Linked DNA regions of Homo sapiens: all the other regions are linked to region 3. The links are contacts of gene promoters, found by promoter capture Hi-C in blood cells and fetal thymus (Javierre and others, 2016). All regions are on one chromosome and are shown on one strand. Each heading gives the region's core, a stretch centred on a gene start or on the middle of the fragment in contact. The rest is flanking DNA. Distances are from core to core; before and after follow the strand shown. Region 1 overlaps SOD2 (superoxide dismutase 2). Region 2 has its middle 31 kb from the start of IGF2R. Region 3 holds the start of FNDC1 (fibronectin type III domain containing 1).

Region 1 (3,804 bases), core at 566-3,065, 510 kb after region 3:
ATTAAGTTGTTTATGAAATAAGTGACTAAGCAACATCAAGAAATGCTACAATAGAGCAGCTTACTGTATTCTGCAGTACTCTATACCACTACAAAAACAGTCATAAAGAGCTTAACATACTCAGCATAACGATCGTGGTTTACTTTTTGCAAGCCATGTATCTTTCAGTTACATTCTCCCAGTTGATTACATTCCAAATAGCTTTTAGATAATCAGGCCTGACATTTTTATACTGAAGGTAGTAAGCGTGCTCCCACACATCAATCCCCAGCAGTGGAATAAGGCCTGTTAGAAAGAAGGGGAAAACAAACCAACCATCAGTTTCAGTCTAAAACATTGCATCTTCTCAATTTCAACTTTTATTATTCTACTCACACAAAATTACCCTTTGTAACAATCTCATTCACTTGTTTTTTTATATAAGTAGGAAATCTAGATAAGAATGAATATTCCTATAAAATATTTTTAATTCACTGTTTACAAAGAAAATGTGACAAATACTAACAATAAAATAGACTTGGGAAAATTAACAACAGTACTTTAATAGCTATTCTTAAAAATACCAACAAATTAATTCAAGAGCCAATTCCCAGCCTTCCTCATGGTGGTCTTAGGAGCAGCAGGAAGGGTGGGTTACATCTGTGGGAGCAGGCAAAAGCCCACTGAGAACCTCCTCCAAAGGGTCTGGGCACTCACAGGGGTTTACGAGGAACCAGCTCTGCTCCCCAAGGCTAATTTTAATCTTTGGGAATACAGAGCAGTTGGAGGACACAGTGTTTTCAGAAATTAAGTGAGGTAAATGAAGAATTTAGTTCTATCTGTAAAACATCCATTTAAAAAAACTTTTGGTCTGGGCGCAGTGGCTCAGGCCTGTAATCCCAGCACTTTGGGAGGCCGAGGCAGGCAGATCTCTTGAGGTCAGGCGTTCGAGACCAGCCTGGCCAACATGGTGAAACCCCGCCTCTACTAAAAATACAAAAAATTAGCCTGGCGAGGTGGCAGGCGCCTGTAATCCCAGCTACTCAGGAAGCTGACGCAGGAGAATTGCTTGAACCTGGGAGGCGGAAGTTGTAGTGAGCCAAGATTGCGCCACTGCACTCCAGCCTGGGCAACAGAGTGAGACTCCATCACGCACACACAAAAACACTCAAAATAAATTATAGCTCTCTCTACAAAAACAATTCTTAACCAGTATGTCTTGATCAGTTGTGAGGGAGGTCACTAGTAATTTATTATTAATAATTTCAAGTAGCAAAATTTATTAATGATTTTTATAAACAAAAGGCCATGACATTCCCTCATTTTCCTTCTAATGTGCTTTCCACAGGGAGAGGAAGGAGTGTAGCTGGGACTCACTTACAAATATCAGCCTTTCTGGTCATGCAGCTCTACAAATAACCTGACTCTACAGATCGGTGCTTACAAATTTTTTGTGGCTTTTACAAATTGTTATGCCATGTCACTGTCCCAAAAGAGCTGTTCAGATTCTGCCAAAATCTGGGTCTATCCTGTGAAGTGAGCCACAGATCAAGAGTATTCCAATGTCAGGGGTAGAAGAAGGGGCAGAGAATGACTGTTGTTGATGTGAAGGTATCACTTTAAGTTCAAAGTCCCAACCCTCTGCCAGACAACTCATGGCTCTATTTCCCATACTCTTCAGTGACATTTTTTAAATCCAATTAGGCTCAACAGCAAAGTATTTGGTGAGCCCAGCCTGGCACTTCCAAGCCGAATATTTTCATATACTCTACCAAAGAGCCCCAGAAAGGCAGAAGGTCTGGAAACCTGAGATCTAGTCCCAGTTTAACCTCAAATGCTCAGCAGAGGAGGTAACAGTACAAGCTCTGAAATCAGTCTCTGCTTGTATTTCTTTTCCTCACTCTTGTTCTATAGCTAATTTTTTTTTTATTTTAGTACATATAATTATCTAAGCTGATATTAATTCTCTGTAGAATGAAGCAGGGTTAATAAGTAAAACATTTGGCTGGGCATGGTGGCTCATGCCTGTAATCCCAGCACTTCAGGAGGCCGAGGCAGGCAGATACCTGAGGTCAGGAGTTCAAGACCAGCCTGGCCAACATGGTGAAACCCTGTCTGTACTAAAAACACAAAAATTAGCTGGGCATGGTGGTATGTGCCTGTAATCCCAGCTATTTGGGAGGCTGAGGCAGGAGAATCACTTGAACCCAGGAGGCGGAGGTTGCAGTGAACCGAGATCGCACCACTGCACTCCAGCCTGGGCAACAGTGAGATCTGTCTCAAAAAAAATAAATAAAAATAAAACATGTTTGTTAATGTACCTATAAAATTACGTGTACTTAATTTTATGAAATATCAGGACTTCTAAAACATTTTTACTTACACAAGACTCTGGGTGTTATCTGTTAAGATTTGCAAATTATTACATGTTCTTAAAACACTGTTAGTTTTCCTTATTTCTAGTTGAATGCTTTACAGTAGAGCATCTCTCCCAAATGAAATCACAATTTTTAAATCTAACCTGTTGTTCCTTGCAGTGGATCCTGATTTGGACAAGCAGCAATTTGTAAGTGTCCCCGTTCCTTATTGAAACCAAGCCAACCCCAACCTGAGCCTTGGACACCAACAGATGCAGCCGTCAGCTTCTCCTTAAACTTGTCAAAGGAACCAAAGTCACGTTTGATGGCTTCCAGCAACTCCCCTATTAAAAAAAAAATCCAAAACCACCCACAAATGAACAGATTTCAATAATTACAGTAAAATGTTATATTACATGTATTAAAATATTTTTGTCATAGGGCCCAAGAAATTAGACAACATCAGAATGCGACACCTGGATCTAAGTTTCACAATTTTAATTCACGTTTTTGTTTTTTATAACTTCAACTTTTTTTTTTTTTTTTTTTTTTTTTCATTTTTTACCTTTTGAGACGGAGTTTCACTCTTGTTGCCCAGGCTGGAGTGCAATGCCATGATCTCGGGTCACTGCAACCTCTGCCTCCCAGGTTCAAGCAATTCTCCTGCCTTAGCCTCCCGAGCAGCTGCGATTACAGGCACGTGCCATCACGCCCGGCTAATTTTGTGTTTTTAGTAGAGACAGGGTTTCTCCATGTTGGTCAGGCTGGTCTCAAACTCCCAACCTCAGGTGATCCACCCGCCTTGGCCTCCCAAAGTGCTGGGAATACAGGCGTGAGCCACCGTGCCCGGTTCAAATTTTATTTTAAATTCAGAGGGTACACGCACAGGTTTGTTACACGGGTATCATATGATGCTGAGGTCTGGGGTGCAATTGATGCCATCACCCAGGTAGCGAGCTTAGTATACAACAGTTTTCACCCCCCGTCCCCTTCTTTCTCCCTCCCTGCTCTGTCCTCAGTGTCTGTTGCTGCCATTTTTATATCCATAAGTACTCCATGTTTAGCTTCCACTTGCAAGTGAGACATGTGGTATTTGGTTTTCTGTTCCTGGGTTAATTCGCTTAGGATAATGGCCTCCAGCTGCGTAGTTCACATTTTTTAATGAATCGTGTTAGAGGGATTTCCCCACTCACTGTACTATCTTTGTTAGGAAAGAAATACTACTTTCTGTTAGCTTTTTCTTTTCCCTGAATAGAAAATTTTCCTTTGACTTCTACCCTCCTTCTTCTACGCCTCCATTTGGGAATAAAGTCATTGTTCTTCTCCAAGGCAGCCCAGCTCTTCCTGTCTTGATGGGCAGTTTTCTCTACGACTGAACTAAGGGTATACTTTAAGAGCTGTAATCCTTTTATTCTGTAGTAATACAGAATATAATTCTAGATTAGTCACATCAACTAAATCAACTGGG
Region 2 (4,351 bases), core at 190-2,689, 770 kb after region 3:
AAGGATCCACTCCCAAGCTCCCTCAGCTTGTTGGCAGAATTCATTTCCTTCTTCTTGCAGGGTTGAGGCTTTGCATTCTTGCTGAAGCTGCTCTCAGCAATGGCAGTTTGCCTGCAGTTCCTTGCCATATGGGCTTCTTCACCATGGCCACTTACTTCATGTCAGATTTTTCAAGGCCAGTAAGGGAGAGTACAGTATGTCTGCTCCTAAGAGGGAGACTTATATATATGGTAACTTAATCATAAAGGGACATCCCATTATCTCTGCCATATCCTGTTAGTTACAAGTAAGTCCCAGGTCCTGCCCACACTCAAGGGGAGGAGAGTACCCAGAGGCATGATCCCAGAAGGTGGGTGTCTTTGGGGGTCACTTTGGGTCTTTCCACTACATTCTCCATTGAACCTTCTATGTGGAAAGACTGACTTGACATGTCAATGAATATTTAATGCCTTCTCCATTCCATTTGGTAAGTGTCTCCAAGTCTTGGACTGACACTGCCCTTATTGTACATACTGTTCAATGGTTTTATCTTGAGTTCCTTGTGATTTTATTGTAGTAAAAGGCCATTTATGGAATTCCACTCTGTAGCATGCATTGTTGTGTTCAGGCGCCAATGTATTTGCTTTCATTTTAACACTTGGGTTTAGTGGATGGAGTTTCTCCTGGGCAAATCTGTGACCCAGGAAACACAGCAACCTGGTTGGTGCTAGTGTGTGACAGAGCCCTGTGTCTTTGTGTTTACCCGTCTGTGAGATTATCCCATTAGTGGGACACTCCTCAGTAGAAGACCTTTCTCAGCAGGGGGCTGATCCCCAGGTCACAGAATGGATGTTTTCATATCCTCCATTTGTGTTATGCCAGAGCAGCGGTGATAGATGATGAGAGCCGGAAGTCCTCTTCTTTAACTTCCCATGCTTCCATACCTTCCATCAGCACTGAGATTTTTAGATTCTCCTGTGAAAAGACTTTCAAGATCTGCTTTTCTTATCTCTGATTAAACCAGAAAGAAAATGACTTGACCAGGGTTGAGGAGAAGGAGGAACAAAGGGAAGGGTGTTTGAACCAGGAAGGGTTGGGGGAGAAACAAAAACACGTTTGCTCCTGCTGCATGGAGCCATCTATGGCTGTTTCACAGCTTGAAGAAATGCACACCCAACAAATAGGAGTCTGTGGAAGACTGAAGATTTATGGTCATTTTTCAGTTGGGAAGATAATAAAAAAAGAGAGCCGTTACTTTTTATAATGGCTAGGCTGTTTTTCATTAGTTTTAATAAACCTTTCCTTTCCCTAACTTTTCTTCTAAACAGTTACTTGGACCTTTAACAAAAAACAACTTTTTATTTTAGAATAGTTTTAGATTTACAGGCAAATCACACAGATCATACAGAAGGTTCCACGTTCCCTGCTCCCCTAACTTTCTGTCCAGCCCTGCCCATTGCCCAGTGCCAGGCTCATGCAGGTCATCAATACCATGCTCCTAGGGAGACAGAGCTAGAGACAGCCTCTTTTCCTACTTCCTTCTTAGCATGTAACTGTCTCACAATTTCTGAAGATCGAGAGTGATGTTGGAAGAGGGAAATGAGGGACGGGAAGGAGGTACAATAAATTCTTTAATATTCCCAAATGTGATTTTAATGTCTAATTTCAGCCCCCGTGTCTGGAAATCTTTACAGAAACTGCTAGCAAGTGTCCAGAACGAGGGACACCCCGTAGTCCTTGTTCCTACAGGAGAGGGCACTCCTCCTTGCCAGTGGGAGTGGCTACATGAGGCCTTTGGTTTGCTGTCAGCTTGGCTCTGAGGCTGGTTTGGGGAGCCAATGATGGATGAATTTTCTGCAGAGCTTCCCATCATCCACAAAGGCCCAGAAAATTCTCTGTTGCAACTTGTTGGCAGCAGTGCTAAGACCCTTTGAGCAAAAGACAGGTCATGCTCACCTTTAAGAAGAGGTTGTAGGCTTTCCCCCTTGACTTGGAAGGAAAAAGGAATTCCAAATCTCCAGGATAAGATGGACCTCAGAGCCATTTTTAAACTTCTCATGCTCAAATTCCTCTACTGCAGTCAAAACAGCATGCCATTGGCATAAAGATAGACAAATAGATTAATGGAACAGAGTAGAGAGTCCAGAAATATACTCACACATATATGGACAACTGATTTTTGACAAAAGATGCTGGAACAGGTGCAAAAAAAAAAAAAAAAAAAGGAGAAGAAGAAGAAACTTAGCTCCTTGAATCCATAATTTAAAGTGTGTTCAAAAACTAACAAATGTTGGGTGCGGTGGTTCATACCTATAATCCCAGCACTTTGAGAGGTCGAAGCAGGTGGATCACTTGGGCCCAGGAGTTTGAGACCAGCCTAGGCAATAAGGGGAGACCCCATCTCTACTAAAAGAAATACACAAAATTAGCCAGGTGGGGTGACGTGCACCTGTAGTCCCAGCTACTCGAGAGGCTGAGGTGAGAGAATCACCTGAGCTCAGGAAGTTGAGGCTGCAGTGAGCTGAGATCATGTCACTGCACTCCAGCCTGAGCAATGGGAGTGAGACCCTAAAAAAACAAAAACCAAAAGCTAACAAATGAGATTATAGACTTAAATGTAAAATCCAAAACTATAGCATTTCTACAAATTATAGGAGAAAACCTTTGTTACCTTGGGTTAGGCAAAGAAAGATTTCTTACATACGGTGTCAAAAGCACCATCCGTAAAGTAACAAAGTGATGAACTGTACTTTATGAAAATTAAAAACTTGGCCATTGAAAAGGCTCTGTTAAGACAACGAAAAGATAAGCAATAAATGGGCAGAAAATATTCGCCAAGCATGTATGTGAAAAGGACTTTATCTAAAATATATAAAGAACTCTCAGAACTCAACAATGAAGAAACAAACAAGCCCATTTAAAAATGGGTAAAAACTTTGAACAGACGCTTCACAAAGAAGATATATGGGTGGCAAATAAGCACATGAAAAGCTGTTCTACATCATTAGACATTATCAGTAAAACCACAGTGAGATACCACTACATACCCATTAAGATGGCTGAAATTTAAAAGTCTGATGATACCAAGTGTTGGCAAAGATGTAGAAAAACTGGAAGTCTCAGACACTACTGATGGGAATATAAAATGGTACAACCATCTTTGCAAGTAGTAGACCCACCATGTATTCCATGCATTCCATCCATTCCACTCCTAGATACTTACCCCCCAAAAACTGATAAATGTCCAACGATAGGTGAATGGATACACTGGTATACCCATACAGTGGGATATTATTCAGCAATAAAACTGAGTGAACTATTGATACACAGGAGACAAATGTCAAAATTATGCTGAGCAAAAGAATCCACATAAAAAGGAGTACATACTATATGGTTCCATTTATATTAAATTAGAAAATTCCCTCTAATCTATGGAGACAGAAGACAGATCAGTGGTTGCTTTCGGGGGGCAGAAAGGTATACAAAGGAGGGACAAAGGACAGTTTTGTGGGGGATGGATGCGTTCACTATCTTGATGGTGCTGATGGTTTTACGGGTGTATGCATATGTCAAAACTTACCAAGCTGTTCAGTTTAAATGGACAATTTATTGTATATCAATAAGCAAGTCATTGCATGTTAATGATACCCCAATAAAGCTTTTTAAATTAAAAAAAAAAATCCCTTACTGAACCACTGCCAAGAGCTTTTCAGCAAAGCTCCCTTTATCAAAATCAGAGATAAGGCGGTGCCAAAACTGCAAATAAAATGGAGTCATTTGTACTGAATAAGAGGAAGTTTTCCAGTCACATGAGTTTTCTCCAGAGGGATTCAGTCAGTGGGACTGGGCCAGGGTGAACAGCAGGGCTGGCAGGTCAGCAAGTCCAAGAGGCTTCACTCCATCTTCAAGTTGAGTGTTCTCATCGCTAAGATGGCAGCCTTGGATAAGATGACCTTTAATACCCAAGACTTCATGGCAGTGGAAACACTGAGCATTTTCTATTGGTCTGGGTTGGGTTTCGTTCTCCACCAGGCACCGGCACTAGTGCTGGCCTTTGCGGCCCTCAACTCCTTGGCATGTGTGTCCTCAGGGTCAACATTAGCCCCTTGCGCCTGTGGGGAGGATTCATGGAGTGGTGTCAAAGAGTGCCTGGCTTGTTTTCTTCCTTTTCCTTATTCTAGTGGGAATGAAGTTCAGTCCAAGTCAGACATGCCAGAAATTGATTTTTTCTTTACTTTTCTGGTACTGAATTTAATTTCTACTTTGAGCCATCGACCCACTGTTGAGTAGAAATCAATTAATTTGGTTGGTGCCCTTCCTAAGAGTAAGTTCTAAGTTGAGGAAAGTTTATGTGGAGGCCTCTGGGCATGAC
Region 3 (3,857 bases), core at 314-2,813:
AAGAGTCCCAACTCTGAGTGACCCTGTCTAGGCCACTGCAGAGCCCTGAGCCAGTGGGGAAGTGGGGCTTTGGGAAGGAGTGGGAGTAAGGAGGGGGCCTGTCACTTGGTTGGAGTTGGGGAGGGAGCTACCATTCCCCCAAAATAGGCAGAGCCGGGTGGCTGCTGGTGAGACAGAAACCACACAGCTCCATTAAATGGCATGTGGGGAAACATGATAACATAAGGGAGTAATGCAGGAAAGTGTGTTTGGGCTGGGCGTGGTGGCTCACGCCTGTAATCCCAGCACTTTGGGAGGCCAAGGTGGGCGGATTGCTTGAGCTCAGGAGTTGGAGACCAGCCTGGGCAACGTGGGGAAACCCTGTCTCTACAAAACATACAAAAATGAGCTGGGCATGGTGGCTGAAACCTGTAGTCCCAGCCACTTAGGAGGCTGAGGCAGGAGAATGGCTTGAGCCTGGGATATGGTGGTTGCAGTGAGCCAAGACTGCACCACTGCACTCCAGCCTGGGCGGCAGAGGCAGAGGGAGACCCTGTCTCAAAACAAAAAGAAAAAGAAAAACAAACAAACAAAAACCTTTGCTGGGAAGCAGGAGAGTTTCCTGGAAAGGAAGGCGGTAGGTTTACACCTTTCCTGGGTGCTCAAATTCAAAGAGATACTGTATTTCTGGTTTTCATCTCTTTGCAATTCATTTACCTTTTTTTTTTCCTCTCTGCAGAACACAAATCCGGTCAAGTTTTGGGTTGTCATGAGGGAGAACTGACATAGCGCTGGGCGGTGAGTTCAGCCAGGTTATCTCTGCGAGGACACCGGTCGGCGGCGGACAGCAGCACGCGGCGTCCAGGACCCGGCCTTCCTAGAGCTTAGGTCACTGTAGCCTCCAGGGGCGCTCCGAGTCCATCTGGAGGGCCGCGAGGCTTCCAGGCTGGAAGGAGGAATAGGGAGAAGGAGGAATAGGGAGACCTGGGGCAGTGTTACAATTACAGAAAAGGGAGAGGCGAGGTCCGCTGAGTCCTTGGCCTGGGCAACAAGGCACACTGAAAACTGGGTTCCTTTTCGACCCGCATCGTGCGCGCCCTAGAAATGACAGCCAGACGGAGCAGGGTCTAAGGACGCTGAAAACCCCTGACGTGGGCGCGCCGGGTGCGGGTAGGGACGTGGAAGGACTGGGCTAGCCACAGGAACTACAGCGCTGCGGACCGGGTGAGGGGTCCCGGCCCGAGTCCCCACTTGGGGCGCAGAGGTGTTTCTGTAAGGGGACAAAGGGCACTCCTCGGCGCGATGGGCGACTTCCCCAGCCAGAAAATGAGAGGGTTAGACGAGGGGAGGAACTTCCTCAGCCACTTGGCCCGGCACAGCGACCGCCCCAAGTTCAGAACCGCTAAGTCAGTCCGGGGCGCTCCGGCCCCTTCGTCCCGCGCCCCGCCCGCCTCCAGCCCGGGCCCCGCCGCCCCCGTCGCCCCTGTCGCCCGGGTCGCCCCCGCCGGCCCTGGCCCCGGCCCCGCACACCGGCAGGGGGCGCCCGAGCGCAGCTAAAAGGCTCGGCGGGAGGTCGGCGGCCTCAGTGGCGGAGCGCGGCTGCCGGTGTGCGGCCGGGAGCGATCGCCGCGGGGCAGGGGCGCGGCGGGCACCGCGCAGAGCGCGCAGAACAGACGGACGGCGGCGGGGACCCGACGGCGGCGCCTCGGCACTCCCCAGACTCCGGCCAGCGCCCCCCTGCCAGCCGCAAGCACCCAGCCCCGGCCCACCCCGGGCTCTCGATGGCCCCCGAGGCCGGGGCGACCCTGCGCGCGCCGCGCCGGCTGTCCTGGGCGGCGCTGCTGCTCTTGGCCGCGCTGCTCCCCGTCGCCTCCTCGGCGGCGGCCTCAGGTACGCGCCGCGCCCGGGCCCCCGGCGCTCCTCAGCTCCCCGCGCACCCTCCTGCGCTCGGGCCCCGTCGTCCCGCTCAGTGCTGGCTACGGGTCGTGTCACTAGCCTGTGCGTCCTCGTCACTCGCGGGTCGGGGCACTTGGCGCCCTGTGTGGGTGGCGGGAGCGGGGACGCCTCGGTGCCCGGGGACCGCAGCGCGCTGGCGTTTAACTTTGCCGTCGCCCGCCTTGGAGTCGGGAGGCTCCAGCCGTCTAAGTGTCCCGGGAGATTCAGGCACAGCGGGGAAAAAAGGAAAAGAAAGGCGACTTTCAGCGTGCGGACTGGGGTAATGCCTTTCTTTGCCCAGAATTTCTCGGGAGCGTAGGTGGTCATCCTACTTTCTCCGCGTTCACCTCTCGCGAGGCAGGATGACGGGCGCACTCGGGAGACCGGAGGGAGGCAGAGCAGGGCTGTTCTAGAAGGTCGTGGGGGAAAGGCTGCGAGCTGCCGCAGGGCGTCGGGTGCCTCTGCGCTCCAGAGGAGAAGCGCTCCAGTGCCAGCTCGGCTCCAGGCGGCAGGAGGCCCGCGCGCCCGGGGGGAACGTTCAAGCTGGGAGAAAATGTTTGTCTTGAGAGGAGGGAGAGGGAAATGAGAAAGCTGATTCCAGAGAAACTCGCCCTTCCCCAATGGCTGAGGCTGCAGCCAGGATGGATGCTTCCTTTGAGAGCAATGCTTTTCAGAAAATGCTAGCGCGCTCCTGTCAGATTTCTTGCAAGCTTCCTGCAGAGAGAGACAAGTTTGTGGCGAGGTTTTCATTCCTAAGCCTTTGGCGGCCCTTGTTACCACCTCCTTTGCAGGCATTTTTACACTTGAAACTGGCTTTTAGGTTATTGGTTTGTAGAAATCCAAGAAGCAGACAATGATCGTCAGATACTATTCCAACGAGGGTACCAGTTTTATGATGCTATTTAGTGTATATATTGTTCTCTTACTTCAGGGGTAAAGGAAGAAAAGTTGGGGATCACATTACTTTGTGACTTTTTGGTAGATACATCATCCCAATGCTTGGCTCAGGTTTATGCGAGGTATTCTGATGCCAATGCCACTTTCTCATAAAAGGCAGTGCCTGCCGTAGGGTCTTTTTCTTCCCATTAGTGAACTCTAGGAAAGTATTCACTGAATACTTTGCACAGTACTTGAGAGGAATAAAACTAAATAAAGTCTTCCAACTTCCCCACCTACAACTCCTGGCTTTTGTTTTTCTAAGTGAAAATTTTCAGAGTGCTGGAAGAGTTTTTGTTTCTGAAAATGATCTGAAACTGGAACCAGTGCTGCCCTGGCTTTGTGGCGATTCCAGCCTTCTGCTTTTCCGATTCCTCTGCCACCTGCCCGTGGGTTGCATGTGAGTGGGTCCGAGCGGGGTTGTTTGTGAGAGCTCCTGGAATCCCACCGCGATCTGCACTCTTGCTTTTTCGCCTTCTGCTCTGTGAATCACTGTGCTGAGGAATGCTGGGGCTGGACAGCTTCCCAGCCCTTCTCTCTACTGTGTTGACGTGGGATCTACAGTCAAATGATGACCAGACTAGAGGTGGACAAAGGAGGACAGGCACATTTCAGAATGAAATCTACTAAATTTAAATTAAGTAATAGAAGGATAGAAACAGACATAGCAACCTGTAGATAGCTCCCCATGCTGTGGATGAAATTATGGGGTACATAACTTCTTTCATGGGCTCCCTTTGACAGCAACGTCATGGATAGACTGCTCCCTCTCTCTGGTTGAACTAATGCATGGACCAAGCGAGCTGCTTGTGTCAAGCTCTCCCCTTCACCACCCTTTTGGGGCCAGAATCTCTGTAAGGAAATTACCCACGGCCACATAATAGTGGCTCCGAGGGACTTTGCTTAAAGCAGGACACACTGAAGATCTGGATAAGCCCTTCAGTGTAGGGTCAATTAAACATAAAACAAAATAAGCAAGCAGTGTCCCCTCCTCCACTCATATTCAT

What was found. Contacts are between HindIII fragments. The CHiCAGO score rates a contact against its expected background, and 5 or more counts as called.
Region 1: a contact is called between a fragment that was not itself captured here and the fragment with the promoter of FNDC1 in region 3, in 3 of 17 cell types (megakaryocytes, M2 macrophages and M0 macrophages). The highest score is 7.0, in megakaryocytes.
Region 2: a contact is called between a fragment that was not itself captured here and the fragment with the promoter of FNDC1 in region 3, in 1 of 17 cell types (M1 macrophages). The highest score is 6.3, in M1 macrophages.

What each region holds. Positions count from the first base shown.
Region 1 is chr6:159,682,354-159,686,157 of GRCh38, forward strand. It overlaps SOD2 (superoxide dismutase 2), which reads right to left. Exons shown (of 5, transcript NM_000636.4): 4 at 2,501-2,680; 5 at 1-285. The coding sequence ends at 140. Among named protein-coding and RNA genes, the nearest start is that of SOD2, 9.0 kb to the right of the region's middle. The HindIII fragment of the contact is 5,065 bases long and covers 1-3,804 here.
Region 2 is chr6:159,935,899-159,940,249 of GRCh38, forward strand. No RefSeq gene overlaps it. Among named protein-coding and RNA genes, the nearest start is that of IGF2R, 31 kb to the right of the region's middle. The HindIII fragment of the contact is 4,391 bases long and covers 1-3,635 here.
Region 3 is chr6:159,167,837-159,171,693 of GRCh38, forward strand. It overlaps FNDC1 (fibronectin type III domain containing 1), which reads left to right and starts at 1,564. Exons shown (of 23, transcript NM_032532.3): 1 at 1,564-1,869. The coding sequence starts at 1,761. It overlaps FNDC1-AS1 (FNDC1 antisense RNA 1), which reads right to left and starts at 2,171. Exons shown (of 4, transcript NR_121668.1): 1 at 1,976-2,171; 2 at 697-925. RefSeq lists a silencer at 1,443-1,612 and an enhancer at 2,419-2,918. The HindIII fragment of the contact is 8,244 bases long and covers 1-2,622 here.